Linked DNA regions of Homo sapiens: all the other regions are linked to region 1. The links are contacts of gene promoters, found by promoter capture Hi-C in blood cells and fetal thymus (Javierre and others, 2016). All regions are on one chromosome and are shown on one strand. Each heading gives the region's core, a stretch centred on a gene start or on the middle of the fragment in contact. The rest is flanking DNA. Distances are from core to core; before and after follow the strand shown. Region 1 holds the start of DYNC2H1 (dynein cytoplasmic 2 heavy chain 1). Region 2 overlaps MSANTD4 (Myb/SANT DNA binding domain containing 4 with coiled-coils). Region 3 overlaps AASDHPPT (aminoadipate-semialdehyde dehydrogenase-phosphopantetheinyl transferase). Region 4 has its middle 9.5 kb from the start of MSANTD4. Region 5 overlaps KBTBD3 (kelch repeat and BTB domain containing 3). Region 6 overlaps AASDHPPT (aminoadipate-semialdehyde dehydrogenase-phosphopantetheinyl transferase). Region 7 overlaps GRIA4 (glutamate ionotropic receptor AMPA type subunit 4).

Evidence for each region. Contacts are between HindIII fragments. The CHiCAGO score rates a contact against its expected background, and 5 or more counts as called.
Region 2: a contact is called between a fragment that was not itself captured here and the fragment with the promoter of DYNC2H1 in region 1, in 6 of 17 cell types (total B cells, non-activated CD4 T cells, total CD4 T cells and 3 more). The highest score is 15.6, in total B cells.
Region 3: a contact is called between a fragment that was not itself captured here and the fragment with the promoter of DYNC2H1 in region 1, in 1 of 17 cell types (total CD8 T cells). The highest score is 5.4, in total CD8 T cells.
Region 4: a fragment that was not itself captured here is called in contact with the fragment with the promoter of DYNC2H1 in region 1 in 5 of 17 cell types (activated CD4 T cells, total CD4 T cells, naive CD8 T cells and 2 more); the score reaches 9.4 in activated CD4 T cells.
Region 5: a contact is called between a fragment that was not itself captured here and the fragment with the promoter of DYNC2H1 in region 1, in 5 of 17 cell types (total B cells, naive B cells, naive CD8 T cells and 2 more). The highest score is 11.8, in total B cells.
Region 6: a contact is called between a fragment that was not itself captured here and the fragment with the promoter of DYNC2H1 in region 1, in 1 of 17 cell types (non-activated CD4 T cells). The highest score is 5.0, in non-activated CD4 T cells.
Region 7: a fragment that was not itself captured here is called in contact with the fragment with the promoter of DYNC2H1 in region 1 in 8 of 17 cell types (naive CD8 T cells, total B cells, total CD4 T cells and 5 more); the score reaches 11.7 in naive CD8 T cells.

The regions. Positions count from the first base shown.
Region 1 is chr11:103,107,858-103,111,118 of GRCh38, reverse strand. It overlaps DYNC2H1 (dynein cytoplasmic 2 heavy chain 1), which reads right to left and starts at 1,693. Exons shown (of 89, transcript NM_001377.3): 1 at 1,350-1,693. The coding sequence starts at 1,544. RefSeq lists enhancers at 1,861-1,910, 1,981-2,100. The HindIII fragment of the contact is 957 bases long and covers 1,162-2,118 here.
Region 2 is chr11:106,007,846-106,011,597 of GRCh38, reverse strand. MSANTD4 (Myb/SANT DNA binding domain containing 4 with coiled-coils) reads left to right here. Exons shown (of 3, transcript NM_032424.3): 2 at 531-1,142; 3 at 1,488-3,699. The coding sequence starts at 681. The coding sequence ends at 2,063. Among named protein-coding and RNA genes, the nearest start is that of MSANTD4, 13 kb to the left of the region's middle. The HindIII fragment of the contact is 175 bases long and covers 1,240-1,414 here.
Region 3 is chr11:106,081,929-106,085,395 of GRCh38, reverse strand. All of the region lies in intron 2 of AASDHPPT (aminoadipate-semialdehyde dehydrogenase-phosphopantetheinyl transferase), which reads right to left. Among named protein-coding and RNA genes, the nearest start is that of AASDHPPT, 6.0 kb to the right of the region's middle. The HindIII fragment of the contact is 3,713 bases long and covers 1-3,467 here.
Region 4 is chr11:106,029,888-106,033,497 of GRCh38, reverse strand. No RefSeq gene overlaps it. Among named protein-coding and RNA genes, the nearest start is that of MSANTD4, 9.5 kb to the right of the region's middle. The HindIII fragment of the contact is 4,460 bases long and covers 39-3,610 here.
Region 5 is chr11:106,059,941-106,063,502 of GRCh38, reverse strand. The region is part of intron 2 of KBTBD3 (kelch repeat and BTB domain containing 3); the gene reads left to right. Among named protein-coding and RNA genes, the nearest start is that of KBTBD3, 16 kb to the left of the region's middle. The HindIII fragment of the contact is 1,594 bases long and covers 734-2,327 here.
Region 6 is chr11:106,097,912-106,101,644 of GRCh38, reverse strand. AASDHPPT (aminoadipate-semialdehyde dehydrogenase-phosphopantetheinyl transferase) reads right to left here. Exons shown (of 6, transcript NM_015423.3): 6 at 2,950-3,733. Among named protein-coding and RNA genes, the nearest start is that of AASDHPPT, 22 kb to the right of the region's middle. The HindIII fragment of the contact is 1,392 bases long and covers 1,256-2,647 here.
Region 7 is chr11:105,860,264-105,863,931 of GRCh38, reverse strand. It overlaps GRIA4 (glutamate ionotropic receptor AMPA type subunit 4), which reads right to left. Exons shown (of 17, transcript NM_000829.4): 5 at 1,724-1,908. Among named protein-coding and RNA genes, the nearest start is that of MSANTD4, 160 kb to the left of the region's middle. The HindIII fragment of the contact is 1,623 bases long and covers 1,004-2,626 here.

The sequences.
Region 1 (3,261 bases), core at 444-2,943:
CACGGTGGCACACACCTGTAATCCCAGCACTTTGGGAGGCCAAGGCGGGTGGATCACCTGAGGTCAGGAGTTCGAGACCAGCCTGACCAACATGGTGAAACCCCATTTCTACTAATTGCAAAAAATTAGCTGGGTGTGGTGGCACATGCCCTGTAATCCCAGCTACTTGGGAGGCTGTGGCAGGAGAATCGCTTGAACCCGGGAGGCAGAGGTTGCAGTGAGCCAAGATTGTGCCATTGCACTCCAGCCTGGGTAATACGAGCGAAACTGCGAACTGCGTCTAAAAAAAAAAAAAAAGGCACTGAATGTTTTTGCTGAGTGTCAAAAACTCTGCTAGACCTAGGGATAAGGGTGAACACCAAAGGAAGAGGTTTAAAATATGTCTTTGTTTTATTAACTTAAATCTATTTACTGAGTCCCCTTTAATGTGTCAGGCAATTTTCTTCTGTGTTTTTCTTTTAGGCTTATATATATAAGCCCTGATTGCAAATGCAACCCATTTTTTAAGCAATCCTGCCAGTGGAGGGAGCAGTGCAATTAATAAATCAGTATATCACATGATGTACACCAAAAAAGAATTCAAACTTTATTTTGAAATATATCATTTCACAAAAATTTAAATTCCTAACTAATCTTTCCCTTGGGCAATGTTAAAATCAGAGCCTGATCCAAAAAAGATAGACTAGAATTTGCCTTCCCCCCAAAAAAAAAACTCAAAAAGGGGAGAGAAAAAAATAAAAATAACTAAGTAAATGTTTTCTTTTTAGTTATAACGTATCTGCAGTCTTTCTTAAAAAGTAGAATATAGGCCGGGCGCGGTGGCTCATGCTTGCAATCCCAGCACTTTGGGAGGCCGGATCACTTGAGGTCAGGAGATGGAGACCCACATGGCCAACGTGGTGAAACCCCCGTCTCTACTGAAAATACAAAAATTAGCCAGGCGTGGCGGCGCGCGCCTGCTACTCGGGAGGCTGAGGCACGAGAATCGCTTGAACTCAGGAGGTGGAGGACGCAGTGAGCAGAGATCGCGCCACTACACTCCATCCAGCCTAAGCGACAGAACGAAACTCCGTATAAAAATTTAAAATAAAACACAATCTAATTGCTTCTATTCAGATGTATGGAAGGGAAACATGCTTCGGTCAGGTAGGATGCAAAGCTTGGAAACTACCTGCTTAAGCACGAGGCCAACGCATCTAAGCCAATAATGCAGGAGAAGTGGAGACAGCCTTGGGTTCCTGAAAAGGATCTGGTTGGTAAAGCTAAAGAGTGTGACCCGACGTCCCTCTGGCTGGGCCTGGGGACTTGAAGAGTGGTCAGGGGTCAGGCAGGAGTGCAAGGAACCGTACCGTGTTGGAAAAGGAGATTCCTGCGTCGGATCGCTGCACCCTGAGGAGCATCTGGTTGCCGTCATCCAAGAAGTTGTTGATTTCAAGACAGTTGCACAACAGTGGCTGATCCCAGAGTTCAGACATCAACCCGAAGTAATTCTGGGTAGTAGTGAAGATGAAGAGCTTCCGAACGTCCGCAGTCCCGTTCGCCATGATTGGAAGGGGTGGAGGGAAGTTGGGGGAAGGGGGAAGGAAGAAGAAACCAGTCCGGAGGGAAGTGAAGGGAAGAGAGGAGCTTTGCTCAAACCCGTAGCCCGACCGCGGGACCGCAGAGCTTCGCGGTTGCCAGGGGTAGTCGCTATGGCGACGGAGCACTACGGCGGCGTCGCTGGCGGCGCGCGGTGGGCGTTGCCCTCTCGGGGCACGCGCACGCAAAGCTCGCGGAGGCTATCGACCGCCTCGGAGCTCTTCAGCGGCTCCCTGCGGTCATCGATTGTAAGGGGTTCGGACAAGTTTATGTTGGCTCTCAAACATGTCTTTTATTCTTCTTACTGATTTCTTATCACGCATAATCAGAAGAGAGACATCTAGCCTTCAAGTACAGCAGCGTGATCTAGATTTAGGAGAGCTGGGTTCCAGTGCTCGCTCTCCACGTGCACCTGGTAGCAAACCAGTCTGTCAGCGTCAAGGTACACATCTGTTAAGAAGGGGAAATACTATCTCACAACCAGGGGTGTAGTGCGGATTGTAAAAGATTACTATTTAAAAATCGCTTTTTAGAGAAGCTTATAAAGACTAGGAATTCAATACAATGTTAATTTACTTTCTCAGTCGCCCTCTGCTCCTTTCTGTGCTGCTGCATTTCCCAACATCGTTTTTTCTATTATTAATTTTAGAATAATTTAACCAGCAATTTTTTATTGCAATCATTACCCGAGCACAACCATATTTGTAAAATAGCTAAAATGTAAAATGATACTTTTTAGTTTATTTTATAACAACCGCAACCAAATTCTGTGAAAATACAGATATGAAAACGGTCTTTGTCATTTTCTACTTCATGGCATTACTATAAACTACTAAATTGCTGGTCATTCATCCGAACATTCGTCAAACACTTTCTCAATTCAGTAATTCTCTTCTAAAAATATTTACTACATGCTATTAGGTTGGTGCAAACGTAATTGCGGTTTTTTGGCAAGAACTGTAATTACTTTTGCACCAATCTAACACAATTTGCCAAGTACCGAACTAGGCCCTGGGGACACAGTTCCTGCCCTCAGGAAGTTTTTGCTGTAGTCATTCATCACCTCAGCACTGGTTTGACCCAAGATCCTAGGGTACACAAACATATGCAGATTTTTTTTGTTTGCACTTAATAATCATAACCTCCCCTTAAAACTATACTATTTGAGAATTGGAAGGAGAGAGTCCTTTTATTTGCTGAGCAACTTAAGATTTTGGAGTGGGAACTTAAAAAAGCTGAACTGCTCTAAATTATAAAAGGAAATGAATGTAAATTCTCATGAAATATCCAAACAGTGAGAGATGGGAGTCTGGCCACTGGATGGGAAAACATCCAAACAGTGAGGTGGGATGCTGACCACTGGGTGAGGGAAAAAATCCTAACAGGAACCCAAGATGACTGTGTAGCTAATAAAAAGATTTTGAAAGCCAAAGTGACCACTATGGTTACAGAGTTTCCTGCTCTGCAATGAGCATTATCACTCTTACCAAGGTCTTCAGGAAAGTCTCCATTACCCACAAGTGCTCGGTTTGGTGAGTTGTTTTGGTGGAAATGTATGAAATGGCTGAATTGAGCTTCCATAACAATATGGTAAATAAAAAGGCAACACATGTAGGAAGATGAGTCTAGAAAGCAGATGAGATCATGAGTATGTGATCCTCCCAAGAATTTTTAGAACTCTTC
Region 2 (3,752 bases), core at 78-2,577, 2.9 Mb before region 1:
AATCCAGTCTAGGAAGAGTCCTGCAAATTTTATGCTGGAGTAATTTGATTTGTCAGGAAAGGCTTCCCTGAGAAACGGATGCTTAATCTGCAAGCTAAAGGATGAGGAGGAATAAAGTAGACCGAGGAGGAATAAAATAGACCGAGAAGGGAGCAATCCATTTTCCAGGCAGAAGGAACAGTGTGGACAAAGGCCCTGAACTAAGAAAGAGTTTGACAGGAATAGGTGGCTGAAAGATGGCCAGTGCAATTGGAGGAGAGAGGGAGAATTTGTGGGAGAAGGAGCTGAAGTAGTAGGAAGGGAGTCAGGAATGAATAGTGGCAACTGGTTAGGAACCTTTGCAGCACACCAGTGGGGAGAAAACGGCAATTTGGACTATGTTAGTACTGGCAAAGATAAAGAAGTACACAATTTTAAGCTATATTTAGAGGGTTGTTTTTTGTTTCTCTTAAAAATTATATAGTTCATTAGGTTGAAGTATGTTGTAGAAGTTGCAGATTGATTGATTGCTTGTACTTTTTTCCTTTTAGGAATTATCCAGACTGCCTTGCCACTAGATGAATGGAAGACAATGATTTGAACTAAGGGCCAGCAAAGAATTATCCCTGGTTTTTGTGCTTTGCAGCATTCCTCAAATTGTTTTCACATCTCTTACCATAAAAACTGCATTGAAATTGAAAATGAAGCAGTTGAAAAGAAAAAGGAAAAGCAATTTTAGTGTTCAAGAAACTCAGACCCTTTTGAAAGAAATTACGAAAAGGAAAGAAGTCATTTTTTCCAAGCAGCTCAATACAACAATTAATGTGATGAAGCGAATGGCTTGGGAAGAGATTGCACAGTGTGTGAATGCTGTAGGAGAAGGAGAACAGAGGACAGGGACAGAGGTGAAAAGAAGGTACCTTGACTGGCGAGCACTTATGAAGAGAAAGAGGATGAAGGCCAACATTAAGCTGGTTGGTTCAGGATTTCCCCTTCCCTCCTCTGATTTGGATGACTCTCTCACTGAAGAGATAGATGAAAAGATTGGATTCCGAAATGATGCAAATTTTGACTGGCAAAATGTGGCAGATTTCAGGGATGCAGGTGGATCCTTAACTGAGGTCAAGGTGGAAGAGGAAGAAAGGGATCCGCAGAGTCCTGAAGTAAGTATTAGCCTCTGTACCCTCTTTTAATCTTTTCAATTCTGATGTGGGAGATTATTGTTCAGGAACTGTTAACACATTCCAAGATTTTCAAGCTTATTTAAAAATAGTACATAACAAGTCATTCTGCTTTTCTCTTTACATCGTTAATACTTTTCTTCCCACCTAAATATAATTACCTAGGTTATATGTATTACAGACATCAAGTAATTCAGTGTAAATGATATTCAAAATTCAAATTAAGTATTTTTCCCCAAACGACGCAGAAAGCTTTTAAGAAATATTTAGACAAATTGCCACAAAGTAGAAGTCAATACTGAAAATTGCTTTTCTCTTTGCTCTTAGTTTGAAATTGAGGAGGAGGAAGAAATGTTGTCATCCGTCATACCAGATTCCAGGAGAGAAAATGAACTTCCCGATTTCCCCCACATTGATGAGTTTTTTACCCTTAACTCAACACCATCTAGATCTGCATATGATGAGCCTCATTTGCTCGTAAATATTGAGAAACAGAAACTAGAGTTGGAAAAACGACGACTGGATATCGAGGCCGAAAGGCTGCAGGTAGAAAAGGAACGCCTACAAATCGAGAAAGAGAGGCTGCGGCATTTAGACATGGAACATGAGCGGCTTCAGCTAGAGAAGGAGCGGCTGCAGATTGAAAGAGAAAAGTTGAGGTTACAGATAGTCAATTCAGAGAAACCGTCCTTGGAAAATGAACTTGGTCAAGGAGAAAAATCCATGCTTCAACCACAGGACATAGAAACAGAGAAGTTAAAACTTGAGCGAGAACGCTTGCAACTGGAAAAGGATAGGCTGCAGTTTTTGAAGTTTGAATCTGAGAAGCTGCAGATTGAAAAGGAACGCTTACAGGTAGAGAAAGACAGACTTCGAATTCAGAAAGAAGGACACTTGCAGTGATTTTTCCAGGCTTCCATTTAGCAAATGTTTGAAAACTCTAGATTTTTCTCATATCAGGTGATATAATGATGGTTGCTGGATTAGCTGTGGTTTCTTGTCTAATGTCAGTGTTCAGTAGGAAAAAGTTATATGTGGATAACTGTATGCCTAAGTAGTATATAAAAGCTGTGCCCTAGCGTAAACAGTATAGCAGAAACTTACTGTGCTGGACTCTTTACCTTATAATATTACATAGAGTCTTGTATTGTCTGTGTACCCAGAGTTTACAATTATGTCCATATAAAATTCTAGCCCAGAAGTTCTCATCTGGGGTAGATTTTGGCCTTCAGAAGACCAATTTGGTGATGTCTGGAGACATGTTGGGTTGTCAAAACTGGGGTGGGGAAAAGGTTGCTACTGTGCAATGCATACCTCCTCAACACCCCCCCACACTCAGTAAAGAATTTTCCAACCCAAAATATCATTAGTCCTGAGGTTGAGAAACCCTGTCCTAGCCTAACTGTGTACCTCTATAGCTATGTTTTATAGTTTTAGAATATTAAAACCTCAGATATTTATGTGGGTAGGTACTTAAATGGCCAAAAACTTTAACTATGAAATGTTACTGTGTAGTATATTGAATATAGGAAGTGATGAAGATTATAGGTATTTTATTCCCATGTTTCCATCTATAAATAGCCTTCTCAGATTCAGAAAACAATACAGAGAACATCAGAAATTTTCTAAAATGGGTCACTTTGAAAAGAATTCTTTTTCTCACTATTAATGCTTTAGAAGCAAGACGCAATTTTAAAGCTTTAGTTCCTTTTCTTTCAGTCATTGTCTTAGTTTGGGTACAAAAATGTCATTTCAGTAATGTACTGAAATCTTATAAGTGAATAGTTGAAGCTAGTAAAAATGATACCAGTATAAAAATGGTACTTGTAGTCCATGAGCTTGAACCCAATGACTGATTGTTTGACTTTTAAAATAAGTAATAGCAGCCATTTGGGAGTAGGGGGTAGGTGGGGAAGATGTACTCCGTATCAAATAATAATGATGTTGAAATAATGATAGTAGGTATGTATTATGGATTGGAGAAGCACTTATTACACTATCTAACCTAATATGTAGAACAATTCTTGAGAGTTGTATCTGTCGTTATTTCTGAATGTGAAGCTCAGAGAAGTGACACAGAGTAAATGGCTGATCTTCTATATTGTAGTATATTTTGTCCTTCCCTCTTCCCTGAGGAACAAAGCACGTATCTTTAGTCTCTTTGATATTTATTCTGAGACCAAGGGCTTGCTTGACCTGATGATTTTCCTTCAGCTCTCTGAAGGTGCTTTTTCCACAATCCAAGTGATTCTGATACACACTAAAGTTGAGAATCACTGCACTAGATCACTTTGTGTTTTCTGATTTTCAAGGTTGATACGTAGCTTTAATACAGCTCTTCTGTTGACAGTTATTACTTTAATTTTGCATTTGTTCCTTGTAAGAATGGCTGGAAACTGTGTGTTGACATTTGAGGATGGGTATGCAAGGAAAAAATATACTTCTGTTTACTTACTCTGACTTTGAAATAGTGTTATTTTTCTATATCTGAAATAAATGCTTCTACCATAGAAATAAATTTGCCTATACTATCTGAGAATTTGTAATTTCAGATGATACTCAGTGCTCTAAGGGTAGAGGTTATCAAGCTTA
Region 3 (3,467 bases), core at 532-3,031, 3.0 Mb before region 1:
GGCGCAGTGGCTCACGCCTGTAATCCCAGCACTTTGGGAGGCCGAGGCGGGTAGATCACGAGGTCAGGAGATCAAGACCACCCTGGCTAACACAGTGAAACCCCATCTCTACTAAAAATACAAAAAATTAGCCGGGCGTCGTGGCAAGTGCCTGTAGTCCCAGCTACTCTGGAGGCTGAGGCAGGAGAATGGTGTGAACCCAGGAGGCGGAGCTTGCAGTAAGCCAAGATCACGCCACTGCACTCCAGCCTGGGCAACAGAGCAAGACTGTCTCAAAAAAAAACAAACAAACCAAAAGTGTTAATAAAACTTTAATTTTGTTATAGTGTGAGGCAATGACTTTCTGATAATATCACTCATAAAAAATGGTAAATGGGCTACAATTTTTCTTTTTGTTAGTTCTGTAAATTACATCCAATACAGAATTTCCCAAACATTAATATGTCTATCAGCTGGGAATATTGTTTAAATATGGAAACCCGGCCAGGTGTGATGGCTCACGCCTGTAATCCCAGCACTTTGGGAGGCCAAGGCGGGCAGTTCACCTGAGGTCAGAAGTTCGAGACCAGCCTGGCCAACGTGGTGAAACTCCGTCTCTACTAAAAATACCAGGTGGCGGGTGCCTGGAATCCCAGCTACACTGGAGGCTGAGGCAAAAGAATTGCTTGAACCCAGGAGGCAGAGCTTGCAGTGAGCCAAGCACCAATGTACTCCAGCCTGGGCGACAGAGCCAGACTCTGTCTCAAAAAAAAAAAAGATTCTGCTATATATATTTTTCTATGATGTGATATTGGCTGGGCACAGTGGCTCACACCTCACGCCTGTAATCCTAGCACTTGGGAGGCTGAGGCAGGCAGATCACTTGAGCCCAGGAGTTCAATACTAGCCTAGGCAACATGGAGAAACCCTGTCTCTATTATAATATTAAATATATATATATTCTAAGTCCCTTCAGGTTCATATAGACCTAACTAATTCTTTTATTACAGCTAATAATTATCTGCAGAATGCATCCACCATTAATTTATTTAACCAATTTCTATTAGCAGCATTCAGGTTTTGTTGTTATTCATAAATATTTTGGATAGAGTACTATAAACAAGATCGCTAAATCAAAGACTATGTGTATTTTCAATTTTAACATTATTTTCCAAAAAGCCTGTAGCAATTTCTAGTGTTTCCATCTATATGATTGTTCTTTTCCGACATTTTCACAAGCTCTAAGTGTTTTTTTTCCAATTTTCTGCAAATCTGATGGGCACCTCACTGTTACTTTAATTTGCATTACTCTAATCATTAAGGTAATAGCTTACTGACTGCTTGAATTTGTTCTTCTGTAACGTGCCTATTAATATTTTCTAATCACTTCATAGAAGCTCTTTATATATTATGGATATTGACACCTTACCAAATTTGTTATAAGAATTTTCCTTATTCTATTATTTATCTTTTGTATTTGGTTATATTTTTGGAATATAATTTTTTTAAATTTAAATATCCATTCTTTGATAAATTCTGAACTCTGTCTCGTTTGAAAAGAATTCATAAAAAGATTTACTGCAACTCGACATCATAGTCAACTATATTTTGTCCTAAAATTTTAAACTTTTTTATTTTTAAATTTCTAATTCCTCCAAATTGGTGTATATAGTATGTGTTACATCCACATGACTAACCAATTCTACCAGCACCATTTAATAAATAATCTTTTATCCACTGAATTGAAATATGTATATATCCTGGGCTCTAAGATTAACTCTTCCAGTTGTCTATTCTTTCGCTAGTACCATACTCTTTTTAGTTTACAATGACTAACACAAGTTTTTGAAACTGGTAAGGCAAGACCCTTACTATATTTTTCATATTCCTAGTCATTAGTTCTTCCATAACAACTTTAAATGTATGTAACCCAGTTTCACAGAATTTTTCATATTTTGGTATCTGCAAATTCTTTTAATAGGAATCAATAAAATCTCATACTGAGAGGCCATATACTGTAGAGAGCAGTGGTTAAATATATGAAGTTTTACTTTTTAGCTAAGTCAACTTGGACAAATGTCTTAACCTTTTATATAAAATAACAGTAGTACTTACGCACTAGTCTTACAAAGATGAAATAATACCTATTAGGCATCTAATATAGTGTCACACACTTGTAGGAATTGCTCAATAAATACTAGTTACACAATCAAATCCTACTGACAAAGGAAAAAGACCGACCTGTAACTGGGAAGGAGGAAAACTCCTTGAGGGTGGAGACTTGGTTTTCCAGTAAGGAATTCAGAGTACAAAGTGATGTGTGAGTTTCTAAAACTACTTACAGGTTTTAAATCCCAAGTGCATTTAAAAAAAAAAGTCCAGCAAAGTTTATTTTAAAAATGTAAAGACGAACATGTAAAACCATAGGGGGAAAATTCTGGTCCTTTCCCAAATTTCAATCATAATTTTTATGTATTTTGTCTATTTTATTTTGCCTTACTTTGTAAATATGGTCACAAAACTAAACAATTCAAAAGTTACCCTTTATGCTTATCACTTCAAACACTTTTAATGGTAGAAAAAATTAGAAAACAAAGGGAAAACCAACCAAAATTTTCCAAAAGAGGGTAATAAATTAAGATGAAGACCAGGAAAACACCATTCTTCCTAAGAGTAAGAATGTACCGTCCTGGCATATGGTAGGCTATATACTAGGTATGTTCTCTCCTGCACGTCCACAGCAACAGTTGGGAGAACAGGTAGAGGGAGGGAAATGAGCTGCACTCAGCAGAAATGGTTAATGCACCATGAAAGAAAAAGACTCTCTGAGTTCCTAGTGGATTCTTACCTATAGGACAAGACAGAGTAATGGAATTGACTCTTTCAATGCACTAATGATAACCCCCAAAAGCCAACTCTGTCTTTAGAGTTGGCAATCTAGTAACAATGCCTAGTACAAAACAGAGTACTTTCCTTGCTGCTCTCCTAAGTTTTGCCTAGCATCATTTAGCAAGACTCTTAGGAAAAATCCCTTGCTCAATCTCCTCACTTACTACAATAAGTAGAGCAATTCAAAGAATCTCCAATGAAGCAAATCAGTGTCTACTTCCCATCTTCATTAAGAAATCATGCTGTGTCCATTGATGCTTCAGGAATCAGTAGCATGGTAACAACACTAGTGACAATTGGAAAATCTCTCTTCCTTTCTGTGTTACTGGACATAGCAACAGCTTTTTCACAACAAAATAAAGAAAAGGAAAAGGCCTAGACATTGTGATTAGTCAAGTAAGATCAACTAAAAAAAACTGGTGGGGGGAGGTCTAATAACACAATTAACAGGAAAACTAAATCTTAAATTTTTGCTCAATTGTCTTTCCATCATTTATTTTTCTTTTTTATTATTATTATTATTATACTTTAAGTTCTAGGGTACATGTGCACAATGTGCAGGTTAGTTACATATGTATACATGTGCCATGCTGGTGTGC
Region 4 (3,610 bases), core at 1,019-3,518, 2.9 Mb before region 1:
AATCTTTGGAATATCTGTTGTCAGTTCTCTATAAAGCTTTTGGAAAATACAGCATGTAAGCACATCACAGCCACATATTTATCTGGTAAGGTAACTAATACCTAGATTCAATTGTAACAATTGTCATTTGTGTAAGGTGCAATAATGGTATAGTATTCCTTATCTTATAGAGATACACTTGGAAAGATTATAGATGAAATAAAAAATAAAAGCTCAAACCCAAGTGTCCCAAGAAAAAGAATAATTTTACAGTGATCTACCTAATGAGTGTGATCATCTCTTGAGAATAAACATGTTAAATACTTTTTTTCCTACCTCCCTTCAACCCCTCTTTATAGTTCTTTATCTTATGCCACAGTGGGATTTTGTCTCCAATTCATTATACAAGACTTGCAGGAAGAATGATTACGCGCTGTTTCTCAAAGTTTGGTTTCCTACTGTTTGCACTGGAGGTGTTCCAAACCAAGGGCTATTTTTTTAGTTCTTACAAGTCTATTTCAAAGACTAATTTTTTGTATTGATAAGGACAAATTCTGAGTAACCTTCTAAGGGAGTCCTTTAAGGGATAATAAAATTTGATGCTCATAAACTGAAACTAACATATCATGAGGTCACTTAGAATCAGACTGCACAAAATGCTTGACAACACTCAAAGTCCCTCTGCGTAAATGGATATGCATATCATTAGAATCCCCAAAATTTTCCAGAGAAAAACTAATTATTACTGAATCATCCATGTTGATTTAACCTGGTTGGGGTTTTTGATTCTTATTAATTAATGTATTTGTACAATTTTTACTTTTGCTTTTTTTTTTGTCTTTTTATGATTGCTATTTCTCATTATTATTTTTAGTTTTTTCCTCTTCAATATGATTGGAGTTCTTTTGCTCACTAGAAAATAAAGATAGCTGTAGTGGGTGAGCTAAGAGTTTGTAACTCAATGTTACGTGGGCTAAATCCAAAGCATCTCAGAACCATTGCTCTTTGAAAGCTCGTTTCCCTTAAATAGATCTGGAAGTTGTATTAGTTTCCTATTGCTGCTGTAACAAATCAACACAAACATAGTGGCTTCAAACAACACAAATTTATCATCTTACAGTTCTGGAGGTCAGAAGTCCAAAATTGGAGTCACTGGATTAAAATTAATTTCCTTACCTTTTTCAGCTTCTAAAGGCTTCTCCCTATTCTTTGGCTCATGGGCTTCTTACTGCCTTTTCCGTACCAGCACTGGTTGGTGGAGTCTTCTCACACAGCCATTGCTCTGACACTCACTTTCCTCCTCCCTCTTTTACTTGTAGGAACCTTGCAATTAAATTGGACCAACAAAATAATCTAGGATAATTTGTCCATCACGTGATCCTCAATCACATGTGAAAAGTCTATTATGCCATATAAGGTAACATATTTACATGTTTTGGGAATTGGGACTTAGACATCTTTCAGGGGATGTTATCCTTCCTACCATAGAAGTATAATTAGCCACAAATTAGTGGCACGTGGGAATGTTTCCTGTTGCCAGAACTACCATTCTTGGCTGGTAGAGATAAGCTCCTGAAATCCTGAATTGGAGATGGCAATTCATTTTGAAGAACTGAAATAATTTTATGAAAGGAATTAGAAACTATTAAAGTGATACTATTTTATTTATAGCCAAGGAGCAGTTTGCATTACATATAGTTTTGCTAGTCAATCCAGAAACTTAACTACCATTTAGCAAATTGTATCCATAGAATAAGTGCATCTTGACTTGTCAACAACCACCTCCCAGATGAATCAGAAAATGCCAGTCATTTCTAAAGTAGTTTCTACTTTGAAAAAAGTGACTCATTAGGCCATTGTTGCTTATTTACAAAATACCTTGAGTTTAGTGTTTCAGTCATCCGGTAGAGCCTTAGAGAGACTAAAACAAAGGATATCCTTTAATGGAAGTTTATTCATTCAACTAATATTTATTATGTCCTACAATGTGCTGGGCATTGTGCTAAAAACTACATTTCCAATGGTGAAAATGAGCATCACCCCTGTCCTCCCTGGGTTTAGTCTAGTGAAAATAATTATGGGAAAAGGAAGAGACAGGTATGGAACAAGGTCACTAGTAAGCTGTATAGCAGTAATGGTCTTGATGAGTTACTATAATGAGAATGTTTTGTCTGCAAGGGGAGGAGGCTTCTGAAAGGAAAAGGAAGACAATCAGATCGACAAGAATAAACTATTGCCTGCTTTAAGGAGTTTCTTTAGGGTCAGTACAATTGTTTGGCAGGCATGTGCCCTCAATGGCATTGCTTAAGAAGGAAAAATGTTTTCCATTTCAATATGGCAGAATCCCTTATTTTCAGAAGCTCTGAGAAAATGGTTTGAAATAGCATGAAATGACAAAATAGACATGCCTTAAACTCCATGCTTCAATTTCTCTGACTGCAAATAGAAAGAATACTTATTAGGACAGAAATGTGAATTTCTGTTTCTTTTATATCCTTTTTTCGTGGATTCTGTGAGTTTCTTACTAAATAATGGGCAGTGAAACAAATTACTTTCATCTCTTGAGGAGCTTCTTTCTTTCTTAAATGATTCTGAACTTTTTCTTCCCTTTTCGAGCATTCACGTGGATAAGCATATTTGAAAAACTGACCATAATGGAATAGTAAATATATCTGGTAAAGCAACTGATTGTTACTATGGCAACATCGAATGTTTGACATTTAGTTTTTCCATTATTCTCTGTTGCTATAGTAATAAAACCTTGAATTCTGACACCATTTCCAAATTGTATTAAAATAAAGCCCTGTTCATCCCCCAAGAAGGAGGGAGAGCCAGTACTATCAATACACAAAATGTATTAGAATGTCTTCTAGCACTAGGACACAGATAACATGAGACACACTGTGCGGCATTTAATCAAACTGAAAAACATGCCTAAAAAGTAGAAAAATAAAGAGGAAAAATCCATAAAGTAGAACAAAAGTTACTTTGTTATTAAAAATCAGCCTTTTATCTTAAATACATATAAAAACAGCTTTCATTTATGACCTGTTAAAATTTAACATCCAATATTATTGCAGAAGGAAGAGCATAATCTTTTTTTGTTTCTTTTTAGAATGAAATATAGTAGAATAATTGGCAATTAAGGGACAAAAAAAGGAGTAAAAATATCTCTTGGGGTTTTGATAGGCTTTCATATATTACATTAAATGCATTATATTCTCATCTACTTTTAAACTTACAATCAGGAACCAGAATAGTATTATGTTACTTTATTTTTTTAAGAGACAGGGTCTTGCTCTGCCATTCAGGCTGGAGTGCAGTGACTTGATTATAACTCACTGTAGCCTCAAATACCTGGGCTTAAGTGATCCCACCCCCTGCTCTCACCTCAGGCTCCTGAGTAGTTAGGACTACAGGTACACGCCATCACACCCAGCTGCTTTCGAAATGTTTTGTAGAGATGAGGTTTTACTATGTTGCCCAGGCTGGTCTCGAACTCCTGGCCTCAAATGATCCTCCTGCCTCAGCCACCCAAGGCATTGGGATTGTTGTTTCTTTTGCCTTTTCCTCTTCAGAAAAAAACATTTATACATATTGTTTCTATTGCTGAACAACCCAGAAAGCCTTA
Region 5 (3,562 bases), core at 281-2,780, 3.0 Mb before region 1:
GCCTGATTCTAATGCCCTACTTTTTCTTTCATTTCGCATTGTTAAAATAAAAGCTTTAGATAAATAAAATTTAACGGAGTTTGAGCAAAGAACAATTCATGAATCAGGTAGCATTCAAAACTGAAGGAGGTTCAGAGAGCTCCACTCCAGCAGTGTGACCAGCAAGCTTTTATAGGTTGAACATGGAAACAAAGTAGAGAAATTACCTGATTGACTATGGCTAGGCATTTGCCTTATTTGGATATTGTCTGATGGAAGTTCCCTATTTGTAACCAGCAGGTTGGTTGGCTGTTTGTGATTGGCTAAGGCTTGTTTTTGGTTTTTGGTTTTTAAGTCAGTTACAATAAATGTTTCCAAGTTAAGTTTCAGTTCTCTTACATAAGAGGGCTGGCTACAGAGGGTAACCTCAGGCTAATAGCCATCTTATTTAACAACATTATATCACACTCTTGGGAAGATGTATGATTTTTATACAAACTAATATTTCATATCTGTGTATTTTATAAATATTAGAAAAGAAGAGAAAACATGCATAATTTTAAAAACAGTCTTACAAGTGACTTATGAAGATGCCTTGTGAGGTAAAGAATTAGTTCTGGGACATTAGCCATATATAATTGTCTTTATGCCTCACTGTAATTTGAAATACTCTTTTTCTGTCCTAGGTCATATGTTATCAACATTGTTAAGTCAAGATTTGAACTGTTGTGACAGTTAATTTCATTTATAAGCTTGCCTGGGCCATCTGGTGCCCAGACATTTGGTCAGACATTCTGAATGTGTCTGTAAGGATATTTCTGGATGAGATTAACATGTGAATCAGGAGACCAAGTAAAGCAGATTCTCCTGTGTGGTGGGCCTTATCCAATCAAATGAAGAATTGAATAGAATAAAAGACTGAGTAATAGGAAATTTATCCTGCCTATTTGAGTTGGGACATACATCAGTCTTTTCCTGCCATTGGACTCAAATTGAAAAACTGACTCCTCTTGGGTCTTATGCTTGCCAGCTTTTGGATTGAAACTTACACCATTGGCTGTTGTGGTTCTCAGGCCTTTGCACTTGTACTGAAACTGTACTGTCAGCTCTCCTGGGTATCCAGCTAACTAGTTGTAGATCTTGGGACTTCTTAGCCTCTATTATCACATGAGCTTATAATAAATCAATCTTTCACTGTCTCTCTCTCTTGCTCTCTCTCTCTGCCCTCATCTTCATCCATCACATTGGTTTTGTTTTCTCTAGTTCCTTTTCCTCAGAAATAACCTCCAAGCCTTTCATTATCTCTCTTCCTCCATGATACCCACTCTCATTTTTAATATGTCTCCCTATTCATAGTTACTCAGAACACTACACACAAAATGATTTCTACAAGTCACTTAGATTTCCAGCAGTACTGCCAGTTACAACCTATTACTTTCTCCTGCACACACAGGCACATACACACCTCCACAGCCACACACACATTCACACAGGCACGCTATTTTTCCACACAGTGTAATGGCTATCCAGTGGAACTTTCTGTGATGATGAGAATGTTTTATATTTGCTTTGTATAATATAGTAGTCACTAGGCAGATGTATTAATCTGACTTATTCAGAAAAACAGAACTAAAGGGATATATATATACACACACACATATATGTATATGTATTTGTACTATACATATGTATAGGTATTTTTACTATATACTTGTATATGTGTTTGTAATATATATATATGGAGAGAGACAGACAGAAAAACTATAAGGAATTAGCTCATGTGATTATGGAGGCTGAGAAGACCCAAGATTTGTAGTCAGCAAGCAGGAGACTTAGGAGAGCTGATGGTATAGTTCCAGTTTGAGTTCCAGCTTGAAGTCAGGCAGAAAGAAAGAGTTCTTTCTTATTCAGCCTTTTGTTCTATTCAGACCTTCAACAGACAGGCTGAGGCACATCTACAGTGGGGAGGACAATCTGCTTTACTCAGTGTACCAATTCAAATGTTAATCTCATCTAGAACACTCTCACAGACATACCCAGAAGTAATGTTTAACCAAAAATGTGGGCACTCTGTGTCCCAAACAAATTGTCACTCATCACACCACATATGACTGACCACTTAAATGTGGCTAGAGCAATGAGGGACCTGAATTTTTAGTTTTGTTTACTTACAAGTAATTTAAATAGCTACACATGGCTCATGGTTACTGTATTGCATAGCACAACAGTAGATTGTCTTGGTCCTGGAATGGAGCCTTAATTGATGCTGTAGGACAATTTGGACTACTTCTCCAGTATCTAGCTTCCACCTAGGCCTCTTGGAACACCCGCTCTGGGAGAACCAAGCTTCATGCAAGAAGCCCAGCCACTCTGAGACTGTCATGCTGTGAAGAAGCACCAGCTAGCCACTTGGAGAGGGTGCATTAAGAAAGAGAAAACCCTAATGATCAGTGAGGATGAGATTTTTTTCATATATTTGTTGGCCACATAACTGTCTTCTTTTGAGAAGTGTCATATCCTTCTTTTGAGAGGTGTCATATTCTTTGCCCACTTTTTGATGGGGTTGTTTGTTTTTTTCTTGCAAATTTGTTTAAGTTCCTTGTAGATTCTGGATATTAGACCTTTTTCAGATGGGTAGATTGCAAAAATTTTCTCCCATTCTGTAGGTTGCCTGTTCACTCTGATGCTAGTTTCTTTTGCTATGCAGAAGCTCTTTAGTTTAATTAGATCCCATTTGTCAATTTTGGCTTTCGTTGCAATTGCTTTTGGTGTTTTAGTCATGAAGTCTTTGCCCATGCCTATGTCCTGAATGGTATTGCCTAGGTTTTCTTCCAGGTCTCTTATGGTTTGGGGTTTTACACTTAAGTCTCTAATCCATCTTGAGTTAATTTTTGTATAAGGTGTAAGGAAGGGGTCCAGTTTCAGTTTTCTGCATACAGCTAGCCAGTTTTCCCAGGGCCATTTATTATATAGGGAATCCTTTCCCCATTGCTTGTTTTTGTCAGGTTTGTCAAAGATCAGATGGTTGTAAATGTGTGCCCACATGGTATACAGCTTCACAAAAGATTGAATAAAGAAGCAGATATGAGAATCTAGTTGTCTTCCATTAAGCCAGATGTTAAAGAGATTTGCAAAAATATAAAACAATGTAACCCTTCTCAAGAAACTTTTTTTTTGTTTTGGAAAATAGTTATTTTACAGTTATCCATTTATATATTTTTGTAGTTATATATAGTTATATACATAGGTATGTATATAAAATGGATATATATGAATATGTGTATTAAATAGATATATCGAATATAGTTATATCAAATTTTTTCTTTTTAAATGAATCAATAAATATTTAAGTGTTCTCAGAAAAAAAAAACAAAAAAAGGAAGAAAGATCCCCTCTCTTCTAGCCGTCCCAGCTGAATCATAAGAAACGTGAATGAGGAAACCATACTGGACATGTAACCCAGTCAGACCTTCAGATGGCTTCAGCCACAGCTGCCATTTGCCTGTAGTTGTATGAAAGCTCCCAAGCAAGAATCATCACCTAAACTCACAGGACCATTAGAGATTATAAATTGTTGTCTTAA
Region 6 (3,733 bases), core at 702-3,201, 3.0 Mb before region 1:
GATAATCATCCTATTTCCCTTTCTACCTAGTCCTCTGCTAATACCCTCCCCCACCTCTATTTGCAAAACCCGATCAAGGAAAAGACAGCCTGGCCAACAAGGTACATAGAAGTCAGCTTCCTGCGGTAGTGAAGGGTGAAAGATAGTGGATTTAGAGGGGAAAAGAACAACTAGTTTAGCAGGCTTCTTGCTCATGCAACACTGGAAAAAGCATGAAGAGCTTTAAAGGGTGCTAAGTAACAACCGAAAACACTCATGGAACTATCAGGAGCATCAAATTTATGGGATTTCACTTGCCTATTGCTGAAGGCTTCTAGGATAGTAAAAAAGTGGTCTTACACCTGCAACACGGTCAGTCCCCTAAAGGTGACCTGCAGAGGGGTATACCACACCAAGATTTGGGCTCTACTGCTTAAGTACTCAACAAATGTTACTTTTTTCCCCTTCTAATGCTGGCTCCTTTCCAATGTTTTTTCATTCAAAATGAAAAACATTCAAAATGAAATTCGTTTTCATTCAAAAATGACCCTAAAAGAACAGCAACTATGTACTCGTGGGCAGGAAAATTCCTCTGAAGCCCCACACCTTTTTACTTAAAATACAGGCAAATTTGCATGCTACTTACAATGTCTGTAATACTTTTATTATGAAAAGATTCTTTCCAAAATTTCAGATAAAACGAATGCCTCTAGATGACCAATTGCTATCTTTTGATGAGTTACTACCACACACCAGTGCCTACTCCTAAGTATGTATACTCCTTGAGAAGTGTGGGCTTAAGTGAGCTCAATTATTCTGACACTGTTGTTACTTCTAAGTAGCACACAAAGAGATTCCATCCTAATGTTTCAATCCTAATAGGGAAATGTAAGATTTAATCACAAAACACTATACATACAAATAGTAAACGCATAACAGCATAAAATTACAAATATTGGAGATTATCCCTGGAAAGGGAAAGATGAAGGGGTGGTAACTAGGGGGTAGGAAGTCTTTAGCTGCATTTGTTTTATTCCTGAAATGAGAGGAAAAAAGATCTGAAGCGAATATGACAAAATGCCAACATGTGCTAAACCTAGGTGTTGGTTACACGTCATTATTTCATGGAATAAGCAAAAGCTACATATAAAGGTCTCTTCTTCCCTGCCCCAGGATTGCTGGTTGTTAAATATTTACCAGCACACCACTAAGTATAGTGGTTGACTGAGGTTTTGGATCTAAAGATCTGAGCCTAACTCTGATCAAATAACAAGCTTCAGTATTCAATGAATATATAACCTTTAGTAAGTTGTTCAAGAACTCAGTAACTTACTTTCCCCATCAATACAACTCCATAGAGTTATAAGAATTAAATAGCCTGATATGTGAGTGCTTAAGATGCAAAATAGCTTCTAATATAAATACCATAAGACATATACAGCAGTTACCTGACATTAACTGATAAACTGGGAATACATCCAAAGACCTTTGCCAATCCCAAATTCACAAATACTATGAAGGTATATTTATTTCCCCCATAAAAATGAAATCCATCATTCATTAGCTCTCTTCATATCCTCTTTAAACGTACTGATACTTGGAGTTGTTTTCAGGAATATTTTTGACCAAAGATATATTTGCATATGTGTATTTATAAATCTATTTGGTCCTCAAGTTCAGATGGTAATAGTTCCACTAGTGAGGAGCTGTTGAGTTACTCAAACCTAACTGGTTTTTGAGTTTCAGATTCTGAATAGGTAACAATTCTAATTTTGATAGTGAAAAATTTAACTGAAAATTTATCCAAATCTTTTCAATTTCTGAGTCTGAAATGGAAGAGACACAAATATACAGATTCATTTTAAAAATAAATTTATGAGAGTTCCTATGCAGGAAACACATTAACAGAGACCAATAAAGCCATACATTGGTCAGTATGTTATAACTGGACCCAGCAGACATGAGTATGAAGCAGCATGTGCCAGCCCAGCACAAAACTCAGCAAAATGCAGCCATCAAATACTTGGAAAAAGTGGATATGAATACAGCGTTAACAAAGAGCTTCATGTGGAGGGGGATAGGATAATGGGTTTAAGAAACAACTAGATCCCTATACCACTCTGCATAGGACTGTCCCTTCCTCTTAGAAGTCTCAAAAAATGTAACTCCTATGCCCACTTTGTTCTCAAAAAGCTATTTCACATGAATGGAGTAAATCTAAGATGTGAGAGATAGCAAATGGGGAACAGGGAATCCAACACAGGAGAGACAATCCCCAGGATCATGGTAAAGGAGATCCCAGGATTACAGCTGTACACCAGCCATAGAAGGCACAAAGTCCAACTTGGACAAAGCAGATTGCTCTAGGAGTGATTTTTTAAAAGATGAAAGAAACTGATGGAATCATTGTTACGTTTGAACATATAGAGAAGATATTCATACATATGGTAGAAATCTATGCAGTCAATTAACTAAAGGAAATAAGAAATTAGTATATGGTAAGGATAATACATCACTCAGCTGTATACAGCAGTTACATAATCTCAATAATGTACACATATCCTTAGTGTAATCACAGTCAACAATGTAAACATTGAATTGTTATGTTGGGAGGAGAAAAGGGGATAAAAAGGGAATGTGTAATGCTGGGAAGCAGAAGAGGGAAGCTTTATTTTGAAAATCAAAGAAACAATGCCTAAAATTAAAAAATCAAGTAAAAGCAATATAAGCATGTCATTTGGAGACATGGTAATAAATAACAAAAAAAATAACATCTAAAAGAGTTGAAAGGGCTTGCCCTGGAGACAGGAAATGGAAGAAGTCAGAGTAATGGCCTTTTTCCTTAGGAAAAAAATCTTACAGATCTATCCAATTTTTTAAAGCTGTGTACACATGAAACTTTGATTAAAAGTAATAGAAAAACTAAAAACTAAAAAACACAAATCCAACACAGTGTCAGGCTCATAGAAATTCCATAATAAATGTTCATTTTTTTATTATTATAATGACAAGACAAAGTTTTTCATATCACCATTACACTCATGCTAGGGATAACAATACTTCCTCTATTATAAATGCTACTTGACCTTTATTTACTATGCTTGGCATAACTGGGCATGCTTAATAAAATAAAAAAAAAAAACATTCAAATTTTTTTCTTTTACTAATCGAAGTACCTAATTTTATACAATTTGCACACTTTTAATGTTAGTAACAGAAACAATGAAATTATTTTACTTCTTGATACTTAAGAGTTTAACTCCAAGACATGCACTACAACCACATAATAGATTTTTGTCATCAATATGATGGTCCTGGCATCTTATATATTAAGTTCACACTTTAAATTAAGTACTACTTGCTAAAACGAAAACAGGTAAAAACAATGAACAGACGGTTCACGTTAAGAGGAATACGAAAAGCCAATAACAATACTGACATAACAATCTTATTTGTAATGAAAGAAATACAAATTTTAAAAATGACATACCATTTTTTAATTACATTGGCAAAAATTAAACCAAAAAGAATACCTACAATTGACCAAGGAGTATTCTGGCAGGGGGAGGGAAGTCACATACATATAGTACTAATTAGAGGGGTAAATTGTATAATTAAAGCCCTATGAACCAGTCAAACCAATCATTCCACTTTTAGAAACTTTCTCAAGGACATAATTAAGCATGTAACTCAAAATGTACAAGGACATTCACTCTGCCACTGCTTGTAGTAATAAACTGCAGATAATCAAAAT
Region 7 (3,668 bases), core at 566-3,065, 2.8 Mb before region 1:
GAGCTCATTTACGGCTTATTCAGAGTTTATCCAAAGCACCCAGGTGTGCCAATTTTCTTCTTAGAAACCAGCTAAGCCTCTGAAATGGGTCAGTGTGCTTTAGGCACTCAATTGCCTCCTCCAGACTTGGTCTTTTAAGCACAGGTGCTAAGTGGAGGGTCTTTCTGAGCCTTACTCACCCTCTGACAGGAACTTGGCAATCCAGGCAGTTCTTAGAATTGGCTGCTCTGTGGGATTCATCGTGAGTTATTTACAAAGCTTCAGTTGTTCAGGTCAAACAACTCAAACTCTCAATACAGGGGCAGGAGTGGGAGGGAGGGAAATGGGAGTCGGAGGTAAAGTGGCTGTATTGCTTAAGAAAGAAGAAAGATTTTTCTTGGATTCTGTAACTAACCATTTAAAAATTTCATATACATTGAATAGCTACAACTTCAAAAATTTTTTGGACTCTCTTAGGAATAAGCCCGAGTAATGTATAGGCTTTTAATTAATATTTCCCAAAATAACATATATATTTCTTCAGTATATATATATATATATTTAGCTTTTTCTTCTACAAAGGGACGACAGGAAGTAAATACTCTGTTATTTCCTCTTATGGTCTGGCTTCTTTAGACTTTAGCAATACAACATTTTTGTTTGTTTGTTTTCTTTTACTTTTCACTTTTACAAATGCTAATATAGTTGAGGAAGGAAACTGAAGACATCTAGTCCCTTGCCTGCAAATAGTAAAGCTGAATCTCTGAAATATATTTTGGTTTTCATTCTTACAATTGAATACTAAAGTTATTCCTATAAATAAACCTCCAAATTGGCAAGTTTACTAATGGAAATCAAGTCATATAATTATGCAGTTAAGCTATATGTAAAAAACTAACCAACAAAAAATTATATTACCCATGTCTGGCTGAACTAACGTATTGTAGATAATATGAGCAAGCATTTCTAAAACCACTAGATGGCATTCACTCACTGCAATTTTGGCCAAAGAGCCTTTAAAGCTTTATCATGATCTGCAGGGGTAGGGAAAGGCAGATGTTATCCATTATTTGATGATATTTTCCTATCATTTAATACAACGGCAAAGCTCAGTTTAATCTTTTCCTGGCTGCTTCAAATCAAATCAACAAATATTTATTGAAACATTTATTCAAGGACTTTTCCATTTTGAGGAGAGTTGAAAACCATCTCCACTGGGGTAGTAATGTATTGACTTATAATACCTAGCAGAAAACATGCTATATACAGTATTCCACTAAATTATATACAGTATTCCACTGACTTTTCTTTTATTTTATTGCTTTAGTAATTTATGTTGCTGTTTCTCATGTAGCACTTCTCTAAAGTAAGTGTGCCTCTAAAAATGGTGCACCCACAAATTTAGAATTTTTGTACTATTTTTAGATGGGATTAATCTTCAACATTAATATTTTCGAAAACTGGAGGCCAAGAGCTCTTCAAGATTCACACAGAGTCTTTCACTCATTCAAGTCTTAAGAATATGTGAGAAATAGCTTTCTAAATACATTGAGACTTAAGAACCAAAAAGGTCCTTGGTGATAAAAGATTGTGATTTGGTCCTGAAGATAGTCATGGAATGAAAACTCTCAAACCTCACACTCCAAATTAAAAGCTGGGAGAAGATGTTGATGGGGACAAGTCAATCAAAGGTTAAATTTTTCTGTATAGGGTCTAGGTTAAAAATATAAAATCTAGGACTTACCTGTTCTAATATGTTTTGAAGTCTCTCTATCTCACAGTCTATTACAAACTTCTTCTCTTGTCTTCTGTCAAGTTCTTCTAGAAGTTGCCTATAGCTGACATCATTAAAATTTTCCACACATATAGCGCTGACATGCCAACCATTTTGTCCTGCTTTTTCCATAATAGCTTGGAGTATCGAGTATCCTATTGGGGAAAAAAAAAGTTACTAAAAACATGCTTTTACTCCCCTTTAATGATGTATGCAGGTACTGAGCCTATATCAACACTGTTATGTTCCAAAATATACTGAATGCTTAGAAACTTAAAGTCTGTGTGGTTATTTCTGAATAATTTATTCTTACTTTCTTTAGTCATGGCAACAAAATCTCTTAAAATGTTGATTGAATGAAGTAGCAACACCATACCTTGTGCTCTCAAAATCTCTTTACTGGAGAACATTGCATTGCTGTAGACATTTTTTTGATGAGACAAACCCCAAACCAAATCCACCACCATCTGTAGTCAATAGCAATTTCATAAACCCTTTTTGTTATTTTACTCACTAGATGGAACTCATTTTGAACAACTGTTTGACTTTCCCCTTGAACAAGGTAGTACAACATTTTTGGTTCAACTATGGAAGAGAAGATGTAAAAGAAACAGTACAACAGTATTTATTGAGGACTCATTATTCTCGGTGCTTTATTTGTTGATGAGGACAGGTGCATATTAGAGAGGCATTATTTAACTCTTCCTCTCTCAGCAGGTGAATGATATAGACTGGGGATCAGTTGAATAACCACTAGGTGAGGCACTGGTACTCCTAATCAGTAAGAGACTGATGACCAAATAAACAACAGAAACTTAGTTTTAAAAAGTGTGTAGCCGGACTCAAGGTAAAGGCTTGGCCCAAGGGAAAGCTTGGTTAGAGCTGTCTGGATGGAACAAGGAAAAATACCACAGAGGAGAAACAACTTGAATTGGGTCTTGAAGGTTGAGAAGGAGCGTGCAAGACTGATGCAGGTGGGGGTGTTTATTACGTGAAGACAGCCTGCCATGAGAGAATAAAATGAATGGTCTTCACCCTGTTCTTGATCTAGTTCTCTCTGCATGTGGAAGGGAAGGCACCTGGTCCAAGCACCTGGGTTAAGGCAGAAGCTGTAAACTCATAATTCCTGCATTTCTTCAGGAAATGCAATATATCTTCAGGCCAATATTGTCTTGATTGTCCTGCCTTTTTTCCATCTCTCTTTTTTTTTTTTTTTTTTTTTCAGACAGTCTTGCTCTGTTGCCCAGGCTGGAGTGCAGTGGCACAATCTTGGCTCACTGTAACCTCCACCTCCTGGGTTCAAGCAATTCTTCTGCCTCAGCCTCCCAAGTAGCTGGGACTACAGGTGCGTGCCACCATACCTGGCTGATTTTTGTATTTTTAGTAGAGCCAGGGTTTTACCATATTGGCCAGGCTGGTCTTGAACTCCTGACCTTGTGATCCACCTGCCTCAGCCTCCCAAAGTGCTGGGATTATAGGCGTGAGTCACAGCACCCAGCCCCATCTCTCATTTTTGAATTGTAATGTGAGAGAAGAATAAAAAAAAGATTCTTTGAATTTATAAATATCCCATACACTAAGATTGGTTAGGATCAGAGCCTGTTAGTCAGTTATATTTTCACTTTATGGTTTAGCATAAACAGAATATTCTAGTCCTCTTTAACAAAGTCTAACACTTATTTGAGCTCATTCTATAGCAACTGTCTGTAGTTTCTTCTTCCTGTGATACTGGAATTGGGTAGAGAGCTGGGTGGATTAAAAGTGAAGATTTAAAACGAGTATACCGCACTTGGAAGATTAGGGCATATTTGTTGAGTTTTCTAATTGGTATGTGAGTCTCATAGATTCAGAGATTTTGAATTTTTTCAGGTATGTTTTCTACATGTCAGAGTTCCAAACATTACTGATGCTCAGT